Linked DNA regions of Homo sapiens: region 2 is linked to region 1. The links are contacts of gene promoters, found by promoter capture Hi-C in human tissues and cell types (Jung and others, 2019). All regions are on one chromosome and are shown on one strand. Each heading gives the region's core, a stretch centred on a gene start or on the middle of the fragment in contact. The rest is flanking DNA. Distances are from core to core; before and after follow the strand shown. Region 1 holds the start of SMIM19 (small integral membrane protein 19). Region 2 has its middle 48 kb from the start of SMIM19.

The links. Contacts are between HindIII fragments. The study calls those that stand out against the background at their distance.
Region 2: a contact is called between a fragment that was not itself captured here and the fragment with the promoter of SMIM19 in region 1, in 1 of the 25 tissues and cell types used here (IMR-90 fibroblasts).

Annotation. Positions count from the first base shown.
Region 1 is chr8:42,538,548-42,544,001 of GRCh38, forward strand. SMIM19 (small integral membrane protein 19) reads left to right here and starts at 3,038. Exons shown (of 4, transcript NM_001135674.2): 1 at 3,038-3,826. It also overlaps a transcript of SLC20A2 not described here. RefSeq lists silencers at 2,619-2,898, 3,039-3,458 and an enhancer at 4,619-4,913. The HindIII fragment of the contact is 13,050 bases long and covers 1-5,454 here.
Region 2 is chr8:42,587,097-42,592,089 of GRCh38, forward strand. No RefSeq gene overlaps it. Among named protein-coding and RNA genes, the nearest start is that of SMIM19, 48 kb to the left of the region's middle. The HindIII fragment of the contact is 4,227 bases long and covers 1-3,993 here.

The DNA of each region.
Region 1 (5,454 bases), core at 1,788-4,287:
AGAGGATTCCCCAGGGAAAGTGCTCATTCTACAAAGGTTTACATAGCACTCTCAGTTTGCCAGGTTCTGTTCTAGGCCCCAGAAAAAAGACAATGAGTGAAACAGAAGAAGTCCCTGCATTCAGGGAGCTTAAAGGGCACTCCATCTGAGAGCCAAATTTTGAAGGAATGAGAAACGCTTGTCTTCCTGTCATAGGAAACACATCATTTAAATGCCTTATGAACAGGAGCCAATGCTGTTATTACACTCACTATGGCTTTCCAACAGTGAAAAACATACAGAAATTCCAAAATTTTTTCATGTACTGTAATATACTGCATTCTAAATCAGTTCCATCTTTAAAAAGCACATAGGCCAGACACGGTGGCTCACACCTGTAATCCCAGCACTTTGGGAGGCTGAGGAGGGCAGATAACGAGGTCAGGAGATCGAGACCATCCTGGCTAACACAGTGAAACCCCATCTCCAGTCACAAATTCACTCCAAAGGAAAACATGTATACATCTTTTTTATTCTAAGATCCTTCCATTAATGACAACTCTCAACTCCTCCCCTCCCCAAAGAGAAAATGCCTTTAAGTAAAGAAACCCTCTTGTAAATACTGACTAGCAAAGCATTCTTAATCTTTTCCTCTTCCCAAAGATGGACCACCAGAATCTTCTGATAGCTAAGTTCCAGCATGCTTTTTTAATCACAAAGAAGACACACATCCAACTCTCCAGTCCTTTCAACTCGCAAGAAAATGTGAACTGTTAAGTTAAACCCTACGCTCATCTCGGAATCACTGTTAATTGTAACTGTTATGCCTACACAAATCATTAAATTCTATCTTCAAAATAAAATTAAGGAAGCCAAAACTGTTCAATTAAATCCAATCAAAAAACTTACTATTAATGCACAAAGTACTGGACTCAATACTAAGCATATGTTCAAGACATTTAAAGGCAAACTAAAAACTTAGACACACAAATCTTTCACAACTAGCTACAATGTAAATAACATCCTTAACATTTAAATGCCCAGTAAAACTGTGCTAGACTCATCAACAAAGTAATAGCCAGTCCACTGTTTTTTATTTTTTTAGTTTGGTATTGGAAAATTAGCCTTGTTTCATTATGTTTGTTTACCCTTAATTAGGAATGTCACTTAGAAATTAAATATGGAAAGAGGGGGCCATTTAAGAAAGGACCATTAGGGCTTTCTCAATATTTACCTTTTTCCAATGTCCTAGCATAGCCTGTTCACTGGGTGACAATGTTATATAATAGAAACTCTGATAAATAAGAGACACGGGGCTTTGGAAACTATTCAGCACCTAAATAAAGGGACTAATTGTACTTCTATGAATTTTTAAAGCCATCTTCCAACTTGAAAAACACATTAATTTACTCTATGGGTAACATTTTATATTGCCAACACTCTTATTTTACAAAGGCATAAACAAGCATTTAATGCACACGTTTGCCCGGCGCGGTGGCTCACGCCTGTAATCCCAGCACTTTGGGAGGCCGAGGCGGGCGGAACACCTGAGGTCTGGAGTTCGAGACCAGCCTAGCCAACATGGTGAAACTCCGTCTCTACTAAAAATACAAAACTTAGCTGGGCGTGGTGGCGGGCGCCTGTAATCCCAGCTACCTGGGAGGCTAAGGAAGGAGAATCGCTTGAACCCGGGAGGCGGAGGTTGCAGTGAGCCAAGACAGTGCCATTGCACTCCAGCCTGAACGAGAGCAAAACCCCGTCTCAAAAAAAACAAAACAATAACAATAATGTACACGTTTCACATTTGGACACACTGAAATCAAACTCACGTATTCAAATTTTTTTAGATTAAGTTACATAAAGCATGCACACCATTTGGCACAGGCCCGGCAAACAATCAGTACTCAACATCACCTGTTATTTTCCTGATTTTCCAACTTTAGAGTCAAACTAAATGTTATAGAATTATATGTATGATTATGTATATACAATATATATAAATACATATAAATACCGTAAATTAAGCTAGTATGTTATTGCGTAAAGTAATGGTCTTACCCTAGACGAAGGTGAGTTTAATTGTAACAGATGAAACAAAGAATAGAAAACTTGTTAAGAAGTGTTCAATGTAAGCTCTCATCTCTGCAGGGTTTCATGTGACTTATAATTACCAGTCAGCTGGTCCTAGAGAACTTAATCAAAATGTATAGTAAAGACGAACTACGTGGACCAGTGGCCATTTATCTGCAAGGTGGCACCAGCCACTGACATCTGATCACTTCCATACTGATGCTGAAATCCTATGCAAATTCATTACTTAGGTCAAGCTGGGAAACACTTCTGTCAAGTCACTACACAATTAAATAAAAATACCCAAAAGGGACTTACACTGACAATGCTATAGCATCCTGGCCATATCCAGTTTTGAAAACACTACGGTGTCAGCCACGCACCATTTAGGACGGGGAGAATGGAAAGCCAGTTTGGAGAACAGACGCTTTCTTAAGAGTACACGTGAATATGAAAAGGGACTCTATGCTCTCAAGACCAAAAAAGAAATCCTCTGCGCCGCCCGGCTACATTGCGCCTGGTGGGACAATGTACACGACCCCTCCCCCGCCGAGTCCCACCCCAAGCGCGCACAGCGGAGCAGGAGGCGCCCGGCACTCGCAGGTAATGCCCGGTCCCTGCCACTTCCGTCGAGTTTTCGCAAAGGCGCCGCACGGCAAGCGACGGCCAGGTCCACGTGGGCCAGCAGGCGCGGGGGACGCAACCCGCCGCCGCCGCGAGCCCCGCCGGCGCCGACCAGCCCTGGCCCCCACCCGCGGGAGCCCGGGAGTCGGGCCGGGGGCTCGCGGGAGGCGGCGCGCGCAGCCCGGGCGGGGGTCGCGGCGCGGTAGGGGAAAGGAGCCCGGCTCCACTCACGCGCCCGGGGGCGGCACTGGGGCCGCCGCTGCGTCTCTCCGGCTCAAAAAACTGAAAAGGGGAAAGGAAAAAAAAAAAAAAAAGACCTGGCTCCTCGTTTCATCCGGAAACCGACCGGCCGGCAGGAAATGACGAAGGCAGAGGGCGTCCAGGTCCGCTCGGTAACCGTTTCCCGCGCGCCCGGCCCCGACTCCGGGGTAAAGAGCCCCGGAGCGGAGCAGCGCTGGCCGCGTGCCGCCTCCGGAGCCGGCAGCGTGAGTGGCCCCGCGTCCCCGCTTCTCCCGGTCCCCGGCGGGGCCGCGTCACCCGGCCCCGCCCCGCGCCGCCCGCCCCGCCCCGGACGCGGGGGTAAGGGGGGTGGCCGCCCGCCTGCCCTCGGTCCCGTGCGGTCCCCGAAACTCCGAGCACCCGCCCGGTCCCGGCGCGGAGCCCCTCGGCGTCGCGTGGAGCTGCGAGTCGCCCGCTTCCGGAAGCGCACACGGGCCAGTTGCGGCGGCCCATCTGCCGGGGCGGCGGGGGCTCGGCGGGAGGGTTGAGGCTGAATCACGCGCAGCCTGCGGGCGGCGGAAACGTCCCTAGAGCCTCGCCGCCCTGGGACCCGGGCTGCTTCCTGGGAGAGGATTACATTTTCTCCCTGCTCCACTTGACTTTCTTCCGGAAGGAGCAGGTCTCGCAGGATCGGGGCCAAGACTGGAAGAGTTCAGGTTTGGGAGTCGTGTGTATAACAGCCCCGCGCCTCCACGCCCAGGCCTGTGTGGCTTTGGACAAGTTATATAACCACCGCCGCCACCCCAGTTTCTTCTCCTGTAAAATGGAGCTTTAGTGCCGCCCAGCAGGGTTGTTGGGATAATTCAGTGACTCTGTGGACTGCCCAGCACCTGTGAATTGCTTTCCTGGATGTTGGGTGAAGGCCTGTGAGCTTGTATGTACCCTTTGGCTTCAGAATACCAAGCCTTTAGTGTTTCAGAGGGATGAGAGAAAGAAATCCCATTTTTTGATGCAGAGGATTTTGTTGTAAGGGACTCTAGGAACTAAGTGGTTCCAATGTGAATTTGTATCAAAGTAACAAAGTTCTAAGTGAGAGACAAAAATGATAACATTCAAGGCACGATGACAAGCGGTGGTCAATTTTAGAATCACCTAGACGTGACATCAGGAACCCAAAATCACGACACAGATTTTAAAGCTTATGATACAGTGACCTAGTCCCTAGAAAAAGTAGTTCTCGGCTGGGCACGGTGGCTCACGCCTGTAATCCCAGCACTTTGGGAGGCTGAGGCGGGCGGATTGCCTGAGCTCAGGAGTTTTGAGACCAGCCTGGGCAGTATAGTGAGACGACCCCCACCCCACCCCCGTCTTTAAAAAAAAAAAAATAAGAATTACCCAGGCATGGTGGCACTTGCCTGTATTCCCAACTACTTGGGAGGCTGAGGCAGGAGAATCCCTCGATTCTGGGACGTCGAGGCTGCAGTGAGCCGAGATCGCACCACTGCCCTCCAGCCTGGGTGACAGAGTGAGACCCTGTTTTTGTAAAAAAAAAAAAAAAAGTAGTTCTCATCCTAAAAGTTTGTCAATCTAAAACCAACCCCTAGTTGTAATATATTGGCAAGTTTATATACTCTTGTTTACTTGAGACTTAATTCAGCCCATCCTAGCCTCTCCTTACTGAAATAGTTCAAGCATTACATTACAGGAAAATGTGAAAAATGGTGTCTTGCTTTAGATTCCAGAGGAAGGCTGTGGTGGTATGCAGTAAGCACGCAGCAGGTGTATGTGTGTACACTTGGTTACACTGTGGCATGCCGGGGAGGAGGGGACGGGGTCATAGTTCAGGCTGCCTGTGGGCTGTGGGTCTGTACTGTGACTCAGGACCAGAGCACTCCTTACTCCTGGCAGCCTTATAAAGTCATGCCATTGATCATGATTGAGGACTGGGCGGGAAAGGCCTCCCCTCTGCAAATCTTTCACAACTACACTCCTAAAAATAACTCAAGTGCATGTGCCTGGAAGCGCAGAAGAGTGACTTCATGACATACCAATCATGTTGTATAATATAGGTTGTATAATTCACGTTAAAATTTTACCGTTCTATGTCAGCAGTAATTAGAAATTTTTTCCTAAGTGTAATTAAAGACCTGCATATTTGGGGCAGGAGGAAGTAGCGCTTTTGAGTAGGAATATACCATTTACTGAGTGGCACATGAACAGAATCTTGTGAAAAATTAAAGTAAGAAATTAACCTGGTTCTGATCCATTTTGTCATTAGAAAATAGGAAACATTTTTTAATTTGTCAGATAAATGACACCCGTGAAATGTTCTAGTGGCCAGTGCTGTATGGTTCCCCGTTTCTTGCCTAATTTGTTAATAACTCTCAATCCTGAAAGCTGCCTCCCTTGCTGCATAATTGTCCTGGGCCTTCTGCAGCATCTCAAATCAGACACATAAAGTCATCTTTTTTTTGCCAAACACGGTGGTGGTGGTTGCTATTTTACACTTTGGCACCAACGAAGTTTGAGATTCCATAAATTATAAAGACAGTTATAGTGTCT
Region 2 (4,993 bases), core at 630-3,129, 47 kb after region 1:
TTTACATTTAGTTCTATGATCCATTTTGAGTTAATTTTTGTGAAGTGTGTAAAGGCTGTGTATGATTCATCTTTTTTTTCCATGTGGATGCCCAGTTGTTCCAGCACCAACGTTGAAAAGACTGTATTTCTCCATTCCAGTGCCTTTGAGCCTTTATCAAATATCAGTTGATTATATTTATGTGGGTCTATTTCTGAGCTTTCTATTGTGTTCCATTGACTTATTTGTCTATTCTGACACCAATACCACACTGTCTGGCTTACAGTAGCATTGTAGTATGTCTTGAAGGCAGGTTGTGTCAGTCCTCTGACTGTCTTCTCCTTCAGTGTGGAAACTGAAAACACAGTAACAAAATATATAGTCTACAGAGTTGATTCTGCAGAATATCAATAAATAAAACAAAGAAGGCCAGGCGCGGTGGCTCACTCCTGTAATCCCAGCACTTTGAGAGGCCGAGGCGGGCAGATCACCTGAGGTCAGGAGTTCAAGACCAGTGGGGCCAACATGGTGAAACCCCATCTCTACTAAAAATACAAAAATTAGCCAGGCATGGTGGCAGGCACCTGTAATCCCAGCTACTCAGGAGGCTAAGGCAGCAGAATCGCTCTAACCCAGGAGACAGAGGTTGCAGTGAGCCAAGATTACAGCACTGCACTCCAGCCTTGGAGACAAGTATGAAACTTCATCTCAAAAAAAAAACAAAAGAAAAATGTGGTAGACTGATCACATTAATGGCACTAATTAATAGTCTTCCTCTATCCATGCCCTTTGCCCTGTAACTTTGAAGTCCCATCCACTTTGATTTTGGTCTCAGCCATGTGACTTGTCAAAGAGACATTTGCATACTTGACCTGCACAGAGGCTTTACTGCTCCTCTGTCTTTGACATGAGATCATATGCAGGCTTGCCTTCAGGAGAATGAGTTACCACTTCAAGTAGAACCGAGTCATTTCAACATTAGCTATGACTAGCCTGCTAGTCAGCCCTCCAGCTGACCACAGACACAAGAGCAAGCCAAGCCGAGATTAGCTGAGTCCAGCCCAGGTTTACAGAACCACCTAGCTGACCTATAGATTTGTGAGAAATTCAGCCTGGGCAACATGGCAAAACCCAGTCTACCTACAAAACATACAAAAATTAGCTGTGCATGGTGGCACACCTGTAGTCCTAGCTACTCAGAAGGCTGAGGTGGGAGGATTGCCTGAGCCCAGGAGGTCAAGGCTGCAGTGAGCCATGATTGTGCCACTGCACTCCAGCCTGGGCAGAGACCCTATCTCAAAAAAAAAAAAAAAAAAAAAAAGATTTGTGAGAAATAGTTTTAAGCCATTACATTTTGAGATGGTTTTTTACAGCAGTAGCTGATAACACAAACTTGAGAAAGTATCCCAGAATTTAGAGAAAATAAAGAAACAGAGGCTGGGCATGGTGGTGTGCACCTATAGTCTCAGCTACTCAGGAAGCTGAGGCAGGAGGATTGCTTGAGCCCAGGAGTTCAAGGCTGCAGTGAGCTATGATCACGCCACTGCACACCAGCCTGGGTGACACAGTGAGTTGCTGTCTCTTAAAAAAAGAAAGAAAAACAGAAAGCAAGAAAGAGAGAAAGAAAGAAAGAAAAACAGAAACAAAGAGAGAAAACATGGATGCAGAGGACAGAGAAAGGAAATCCAACATATGAATAACTAGTATTCCTGAAGAAAACATAAAAATAAATCAAACAGAAGTAATTTTCTTTTTCTTTTTTTTTTTTTGAGATGGAGTCTCGCTCTGTCGCCCAGGCTGGAGTGCAGTGGCGCAATCTCTGCTCACTGCAACCTCTGCCTCCCGGGTTCACGCCATTCTTCTGCCTCAGCTTCTGGAGTAGCTGGGACTACAGGCGCCTGCCACCACGCCCTGCTAATTTTTTTTGTATTTTGTGATTTTGGTAATTTATGACTTCTCTCTTTGTTTCTTTGTCAGTATGGCTAGGGGTTTTTCAAGTTTTAAAAATCTTATCCAAGAAGTAGATTTGGTTTTTATTGATTTTCATTGTTTTTGTTTCCAATTTTGTTGCTTTTGGCTCTTTATTATGTCTTTCCTCTGCTTGTTTTGAGTTTAATTTGCTCTTTTTTTAGTTTCATAGGGCAGAAGCTTAGATTATTAATGTGAGGCCTTTCTTCTTTTCTAATAAAAGGATTTAGTACTATAAATTTCCCCTAAGCCCTGCTTTTGCTGCATTCTACAAATTTGGGTATGTTTTTTAATTTTCATTCAGCTCAAGATATTTTCTAATTACTCCTTAGACTTCCTTCTTGATCCATGGGTTATATGCATTGTTTAATATTTTAGGATTTTCAGGTATCTTTCTATTACTGACTTTTGTTATTGTCACAGAACACATTTTATGTGATTTCAATTTTTAAAACTTTGTTAAAGTTTGTTTTATGGCTCAGAATATGACAGATGTTGATGAGATAATAGCTTTCCTTGTTGTTTAAGAAAGGGTAGGTTGAGCTAAGCCCATTAGTGCATGCCTGTACTTTCAGCTACATGGGAGGATTCCTTGAGTTGAAGAGTTTGAGTCCAGCCTCGGTAACATAGGGAGACCCAGTCTCAAAAAAGAAAAAGAAAGGGTAGGTTATTACTTGCAAACCATCTAGCTGATACAGCATTTCATTCCTAACTTTGACTGAAAGCAAGAAACAGGGTAATGGGAGTAGCTCCAAATAAACCAATTACAGCAATAAATGTATAGGCTTTAATCTATTATATTCCTCCTTATAAGTCACAGGTTTTCAGATTGAGTAAAAAACAAGATCAATCTTATTTCCTTATAAGAAGCAGCTTAAAGCAAAAAGTTTCAAGTTAAAGGATGGGCAAACATATTGGGCAAATACAAACAAAAATACAGTAAAAATTACATTATTATATGAAATAGAATTTGATGTGAAACCATTTAATGAAACCAAGAAGATATGTTCATTATAAATCTTTGTATTGAATGTATAAAGCAAAAACTGACCAGAACTTCACAGGAGTGTGAGTATTTAATAATACCTCTGGCCAGGCATGGTGGTGCACGCCGGTAATCTCAGCACTTTGGGAGGGCATGGTGGGTGGATCACCTGAGGTCAGGAGTTCGCAACCAGCCTGACTAACATGGTGAAACCCGTCTCTACTAAATGCAATAAAAATAGCCAGGCATGGTGGCACATGCCTGTAATCTAAGCTACTTGGGAGGCTGAGACAGGAGAATTGCTTGTACCTGGGAGGCAGAGGTTGCAGTAAGCCGAGATCACACCATTGCACTCCAGCCTGGGCAACAAGAGCAAAACTCTGTCTCAGAAAAAAAAAAAAAAATCCTGTAAATATTGGATAGAGCAATTAAACAAGAAATGTTGAGCATATACAGCAGGGGCCAGCAGACTATTTCTACAAAGGGCAAGACAGCAAATTTCTGTTTTAAATATTAATATATATTAAAGAGTTTACAAACACTGAATTTCTATGTACAACCACAACTGCACTCATCCCTCATCCTAAAGGAGGGAACCCCATATCCCTTTCAGCTGTGGACATGGAATCCACGGTTTCCAGGGAAAGACATTCCTTTTCTTGGTCAGTCTTGATTTGTACCTCCTTTCCATCCTGCACTGTATGAACTAAATCAGCGATTAACCCATGTCTTCACCATGCACATCAAAATAGGGGGTTGTCTTGAAGCATGAACAAGTTACACTGTGCTGTAATTATCCAATATTGTGAAGTTCTGATATTAAAGTTATATTAGCTTGGTGAAATGAATGGGAGATTATTCATATTTTTCTGTGTTCCGCATAATTCTAGGTAACATTAACATTATCTACTCGGAAGTTGGACTCAACTATACAGCTACCTGCTGTATGTGCCTTCTTCATTGGCAGGTTTGTTTTTTTTTTTTTTCCCCAATGACAATTTCAACTTTTCCAAGTTTATTGTTCTGTTCAGTTTTGCTACTTCTTTTTGCATTAATTTTGGTCATTTATATCTTTCTATAAAATCATTTATTTTGTCCAGCTTTTCAAATAAATTTATTTGTAGAAGGTGTTCTTTTATATCTTTTTTTTATAACTGTCTTCTATATCTAAATTTGTCTCCTTTCTAATGTTTAATGTTACATATTCATATTGTATGAATTATACTTGCCAGAGAAGTGTCTATTTTGTTTCAGAGAAACAGCTCCTGAACTTATTTAATACCATTTTTGCACTTAAAAATTTATTTTAGCTCTTATCTTTCTCAATTTCTTCCTTCTGCTTTCCTTAGACTTAATTTTTTTCTACTGTTTCTTTTCCAACTTTTTGAGAAAAATTCTTGATTTATTTATTTTAACTTTTTCCTAATTAATAATAAAATCATTTCAGGTCATAAGTTTTCTTGAATAGTTTTTATCTTATTCCATAATTGGAGTGTTTTAAATGTTTATTGACTGTTTTTATTTACATTTTTATTTTTAATTTCTAATATTATTGTACTGTGATAACAGAATGTGGCCTAAATAACTTTTTTTTTTAATTAACTAAAGTGCTTATTTCTGATGAATAGAGAATGGGTCTTTGTAAATAGTTTCGTAGACTCCCGGGGATATCTGGCCAGCTTAGAACCCCTTTCTTTGAGAATTGTACTCTCTGTGTTCAGGGTGGGTTTCTGTAGCATGCTACCCCACTTTCCACTCCCACATCACAGCTGCCTCCACCTCCCCACTGGCTAACTGGATTGGGAAATGCCTGACCCAAGCTGAGCCAGTCAGGTTTTTTACTCCCAGGAATTGGGAGTTGAGGTTTAGTGACTTGATGCAGATCTCTACTAGTTGAGAAGAAGCCACGTTCTACCTCGTGCAGAGAAGAGAGACAGAGAGAGAGCAACAGCACTGCTTCCTGGCAGCTTCCCAGCTTCCTGCTTTATTCTCTTCTTGAGGTCTCATTATACTTCCAAAATTTGAGTTCCAACATTGAGCTCTTGTATTCCACAATAAACT